2 separate regions of the Homo sapiens genome follow, and region 2 is linked to region 1. Evidence: promoter capture Hi-C in human tissues and cell types (Jung and others, 2019). All regions are on one chromosome and are shown on one strand. The core of a region is centred on a gene start or on the middle of the fragment in contact, and the rest is flanking DNA. Distances in the headings are between cores, read along the strand shown.

What was found. The method cuts DNA at HindIII sites, captures the fragments that hold promoters and counts their contacts. A contact is called where the count stands out against the background at its distance.
Region 2: a fragment that was not itself captured here is called in contact with the fragment with the promoter of ZNF749 in region 1 in 1 of the 25 tissues and cell types used here (aorta).

The regions. Positions count from the first base shown.
Region 1 is chr19:57,433,901-57,437,024 of GRCh38, reverse strand. ZNF749 (zinc finger protein 749) reads right to left here and starts at 1,700. Exons shown (of 3, transcript NM_001023561.4): 1 at 1,432-1,700. The coding sequence starts at 1,446. RefSeq lists enhancers at 1,136-1,185, 1,816-2,115. The HindIII fragment of the contact is 7,932 bases long and covers 1-3,124 here.
Region 2 is chr19:56,323,890-56,327,013 of GRCh38, reverse strand. All of the region lies in intron 1 of ZSCAN5A-AS1 (ZSCAN5A antisense RNA 1), which reads right to left. It also overlaps a transcript of ZSCAN5A not described here. Among named protein-coding and RNA genes, the nearest start is that of ZSCAN5A, 11 kb to the right of the region's middle. The HindIII fragment of the contact is 7,309 bases long and covers 1-3,124 here.

The sequences.
Region 1 (3,124 bases), core at 451-2,950:
AAACTGCTTCTTTTTTCCTTAAAAAAAAAGCAAACACTTGTCACTGTGGTAATTGAAGTGTATATTCAGGACAACTTGAATCTATGGTCCCAGATGGCTATCATCAACATGTGAACTTGAATAAACTCTCTTTAAACTAGATTCTGACTTGCTTGGTTATTTAAGATTGATATAGTTCCTTACTGTTTAAGTCAATTACCTGTTTTTACATCCCTAAGTTAATGAGTTGTAGGATGGGGCTGAGCAGTCAATCAGTTACTGGTCCGTTCAGCAAACAGGTCAGCCTGCCATATAATGCAGTAAAGGGAGCTTGCTGGAGGCCCTTAACTGTGGTGGAGGATGTGAGAAAGCCCTGCCCAGTTTTGGACCCAGTTGCTGCATGGCCTTATCTTGTTCCCTAAAGAGTGGCCCTCAGGGCCAGCTGAGTTAGAAGGGTGGAGTGACTACAATTATCTCATGCCTCAGTCTCTGTATTCCAGGGCAACTCCTTATCCATCCAGGCCTCTTTTTCAACAGAAACAGACCAGACTCTTAGCCCATATCTGCTCCCTTCTGCAGGGAGTATCAGAGATGCCCTCCCTACCATGGTCTTTCCTCCAAATCTGAGCCCTCCCCTACCTCAGCCCATATGAAAAAACGATGTAGGATTCTTCCTTCTCAATCTGATCCACAGGCCAACTTCTCAAGTGCACAACTTCTAACTCATTTAAAGCTCCAGGCCAGCTACCTTCCCTCACCTTTGGAAATTACGTCCACCTACCCATGTGATGTCGCCCAAAATCCAACCCAGGATCTTCTGTCTGAAACCCGCTCCTTAAGCTGATATCTCTAATTCCATTCTTTCAGATTTTTCAGGCCAAAACAAAACCTATGGAAGACACCATTCACTACCGACTTTCCCTCACAGCTATGTTTGATGCAGCAGGAAATCCTGTTGACCCTATCTCTGAGATCCATCCAGAGTCTCATCACATCTCCCCTCTACTGCAACCCCTCTGGCCCAGCCCTACCATAACTCAAGGGGTCTCCTCAGCGGTCCCCCTGCCCCCGTTCAACATCCTGTTTTCCCCAACTTTAAACTTCTAACTCTGGGCGTGACCCTCCCATTCGTCCTCCCTGCACAGCCCTCTATGGCTCTCTGCGGCTCCACTGCCCTTCCAGGGGAGACTCCGCCTCAACCTCTGCTCCTTGGAGACAAAGACGCTCGGGCTCCCCAGTGCCGCCCGTTCTGCAGTGCCTCCAAGCCCCAGAGACGTGTCGGTCTCCGACGGGAGCTCCCCCGCCTCATCGCACCGCAGTCCCAGTCCCGGGCACCCCACACAAGAACGCCCCTCTCTTAGAGACACAAGGGCCTAACCTGCAGGGCGGCTCCTTGGGACTTCAGCACTGGGAGGAGGGGTTGGGCGGGGCGGCCTGGGACGCTGCACGCACCTCGGTCAGGTTCATCGGCGCGGCCTCCTCCAGTCCACCCAGGGAAGAGCGGGGCGGGAACGGCGGTCACCTGGACGCTGACGGAGGCAGGGGCGCCTGCAGCCGACTCAGCCGATCCGCACTCTAGCCTCTGTGTAGAAGGAACACCGCTTCTCGCGTTTTTCCGCTCTTTCACCTCAGTCCCGACCCAGAGCTCTGGGACCCTCTAAATCAGTGAACAGATCCCTAGGTAGCCATGCTAACGCAACCATGAGGGCGCCGCCAGAAGTCCCGCCCACACAATTGAGACCTCATTAGTCGTCTCTCTGCTAGACCAATGGCTACACTCGCTGCCCTGCCCCCGCAGTGTCTTCTGGGTAATGTAGTTCTCACGTTGCTGCCTGTGTCGCCCGCAGTGTCTTCTGGGTAATGTAGTTCCCACGCTGCTGCCTGCCTCGCCTCACAATGCTGGGCGCGCGGACCTTACGGAAAAAAGCTGGAGGCTCCTGGAGGAGCGTTAAGAAATGCAGTTCCGGGGCTCTTAAGGACGTGGAGGGGCTTTGCTGACTCCTAAACTGCAAGTAACCAGATTTTCCCGGAGAGCAGTCTAGGACAAGTCTGAGAAATATTTCAGAGACCTGTCGTTTCAGATTCTCTGAAGCACAGCAAGTCCCGAAAGGAAGAACATCAGAAGCGACATGGCTGACCATAATGAACTGGTCCTCCATTCATAGCGGTCAGCTCTTTTGTGCTTGTCAAGTACACACATACTGAGGCTCTGGAGACTTTTTTTTGATCGTTAGTGTGCTTCTGTTGGGACAAGAAAGAAAAGACCCACACAGGATGTGATGGAGAGTTGAAGGAGGAATATCTTTCTGTCGACGAAAAGGGTGGAACTTTGTGAAATAGTTGAAGAGATTTATTCTGAGACAAATATGAGTGACTAATGGCCCATGACACGGCTCCAAGATATCCTAAGAACATATGCCCAGGGTGGCCCATCTACAGCTTGGTTTTAACAATTTAGGAAGACGTAAGACATCAATCAATACATGTAAAATGTACATTGGATTCCTCTGGAAAGGCGCAACTGGAAGGGAGGGGCGGGGCTTCCAGGTCAGGTGGGTTCAAAGATTTTCCGATTGGCAATTGGTTGAAAGAGTTTGTATCTAAAGACCTGGAATCAGTAGAAATGGTTGTCTGGGTTAAGGGGTTGTGGGCCGGGCGTGGTATCTCACGCCTGTAATCCCAGCACTTTGGGAGGCCGAGGTGGGCGGATCACCTGAGGTTGGGAGTTCGAGACCAGCCTGACCAACATGTAGAAACCCCATCTCTACTAAAAATACAAAATTAGACGGGCATGGTGGCACATGCCTGTAATGCCAGCTACTCGGGAGGCTGAGGCAGGAGAATCGCTTGAACCCGGGAGGCGGAGGTTACGGTGAGCCGAGATCTCGCCATTGTACTCCAGCCCGTGCAACAAGAGCGAAACTCCGTCTCAAAAACAAAAAAAGACAAGGGGTTGTGAAGACCAAGGTTATATCATGCAGATGAAGCCTCCAGGTAGTCTTATAAGGCCTTATGATAAGGCCTCAGCTCCTGAGCTAAAGCTATCTTCCCACCTCAGCCTCTAGAGCAGCTGGGACTGTAGGTACAGGACACCGTCCCTGGCTTTATTCAGCTTTTTACAATGCACTACAAAAAGTCGGCATTT
Region 2 (3,124 bases), core at 188-2,687, 1.1 Mb after region 1:
GGTTAAGCACAACCTCAACTCGTGAAGGGCATTGTAGGTGGGTCAGCATATAGCACTGAGTGAATGTTTGCTGGATGAGTGAATGATGGGTACAGAGCAAAGTGTAAGGAGTGTCTTTCAGCTGCTATGTTCTGCTCAAGGCTGGTTTCTTTATGTGTTGAAGAGGAAGCCACAGGCATGAAGAAGACTTGGCATGATTGATTATGAGCAGCGCATCAATATGTTGCATATTAGGGCCCATGATGGAAATCAAAGCAGAGGAGACTCGAGATCTAGTGGGATTTGTACCATTAGTGAAGTGGAGGGAGAGATGCCGCACATTTACGTGAGAGCATGTGTGGGTGGGGGTGTCATTTGCAGTTAATCGCCCAGTACTGAAAGGCACCCAGCGGTACACTATGGGAAGTGAAATAAGCCACGCACAGAGAGCCACATACTGCGTGATTCCCATTTATATGTGGAATATTAAAAAGTCAAACTCAGAGAGTAGTAACAGAGAGTAGAATGGCAGTTACCAGGGGTGGAGGGTTGGGGGATTGGGGAGATGCTTGTCTAAGGGCAGAAACTTTCAGCTATAAGATGAAATACTGTTAGAGACCTAATGTATAGCATGGTGAACATAGAGAATCCTAATGTGTACTTGAAATTTTTCAAGAGTTATCTCAAATGTTCTCACCACACACACACACACACACACACACACACACAATGGTAACTGTGAGATGTGGATATATTTATTAGCTTGTTTTAGACATTTTACAATATATACGTATATCAGGCCAGGCGTGGTGGCTCACGCCTGTAATCCCAGCATTTTGGGAGGCCGAGGCGGGCCGATCACGAGGTCAGGAGATCGAGACCATCCTGGCTAACACGGTGAAACCCCGTCTCTACTAAAAATACAAAAAAAAAAATTAGCTGGGCGTGGTGGCGGGGGCCTGTAGTCCCAGCTACTCAGGAGGCTGAGGCAGGAGAATGGCGTGAACCCGGGAGGTGGAGCTTGCAGTGAGCGGAGATCACACCACTGCACTCCAGCCTGGGCAACAGAGCAAGACTCCATCTCAAAAAAAAAAACCACAATATATACATACATCAAGACATCCCATTGTACACTCTAAATATATGTAATTTTTTGTTAATCAAAACTCAAAGCTGGCAAAAGGCACTCAATATATATTGTCTTCTTAATTCTTTAACACCACACTCTAATCCTCTTGAAATATTTCTTGTCATAAAATCTAGGCCCTGAAATCCTGAAAACAGCAACAACAACAACAACAACAGATAACCAGTATATCTGCCTCACTAATCTAATGAATTCTCCCTCCTTAACCCCTTCAAACGCTATTTTTTTTTTTAAGTGTCTACTTCTGGTGATGACAGAGTGACTGGTGCTAGACTGGACTTCCTGATACAGAAAACAACAAACCTGGATGCATTCTATCTGGCAACAGTTTTCAGGCAGGGATAAAAGGTCATGCAAGAGTGAAATTCACACAAGAAGGGAACCTAGCAAGCTAAGCCCCATGACCTCCCTGTTCTCTTTCAGGGGATAATTCCTCTCCCAGTAGATACAACTGGAATCTGGGCCAAACAAAGCAGTCATTGATATGGTTTGGCTGTGTCCCCACCCAAATCTCATCTTGAACTGAGCTCCCATAAAGCGGGACATTAGGAAGGAAGACAGTTTCTGGGGAGGGGCCCCATTCTGTGTGGGAAACGTGTGAGGGGAGAAGAAAAGACACACACACAATACCTTTAAGGGTAAACAACCTTTATCCCACGTAAATGGCAATGTAGATAGAATAAGCAAATTATATAATAAGCAAATGGATATAATAAGCAAATTGCAATGGGGAGGGAAGAAGGGAAAAGATATACATCTATTTACACTCACCAGACTATGGAGGATTCACCACCAGGCTGGGAAGCAACAGCCTAGGCTCCAGAGTCAGACACTCGTCCATGCACAGAAAATGAGAGGTCTCATGAAGCTTCAACGCAGTCTGGGACCCTAGTTCTTTTTGTAAGGAGTTGTTTGACATGAGGCCCAGTCACAAGGGCCCTTCACGACTGGGCTCAAGGAACACAAAAAGGTCAACTTTTTTTTGTGGTTGTCTATTGTTTTTCAATAACTAATGTATAGGAATAGATTGAAATAGACAGTTCTCCAAAACAGTGCTGGGTGAATGCCTCAAGGGGCTCACACAACCTGTTCCAGGACTTGGTGACCATTGTTTGTGGCCATGTTCAATTGAATTCAAACTTAATATTTAACTTTTCCTCCACAGGCCCTCAGAAATTTGTGTCAGTAAATGTGGGAGGGCAGATATCTTTTTGACCTACTAACTTCCTTTTTTTTTTTTTTTTTTGAACATGTACACAGCAGTGGGAATGCCAGTCACATGGGGATTCTATTTTTAGTTGTTTGATGAACCACCACAGTTTTCCATAGTGGCTGTACTAATTTACTTTCCCACCAACATTGTACGAGGGTTCCCCTTACTCTGCATCCTCACCAGCATCCATTATTTTTTGGCTTTCTGATAAAAGCCATTTTAACTGGAGTGAGATAATTTCTCATTGTGGTTTTGATTTGCATTTCCCTGATGTGCTGATGTTGAACAGAGTTTCATATACCTCTTGACCAACTGAAGAACAAAATATGATACATATACACAATGGAATATTATTCAGCCATAAAAAAGAATAAAATGTTATTTGCTGCAACATGGATAGAATTGGAGGACATTATGTTAAGTGAAATAAGCCAGGAATAGATGGACAAATATTCCATCTTCTCACTCATATGTGGGAGCTAAAAACATGGATCTCATGGAATTAGAGAGTTGATTGGTGGTTACCGGAGGCTATGAATAGAGGGGGAAAGGAGAGAGGTTGTTTTGTGGGCACAAAAATACAGTTGGATAGAATGAATAAGATCTACTGTTCAGTAGTACAGCAGGGCAACTATAGTTAACAATAATTTGTTGTATGATTTAAAGTTGCTGGAGGGGAGGAATTGAAATGTTTCCAACATAAAGAAAGGGTGCAGGTTTGGGGTGATGGAGTCCCAATTGTCCTGGTTTATCATTAGACATTGTATGCATGCATCAAAATACCA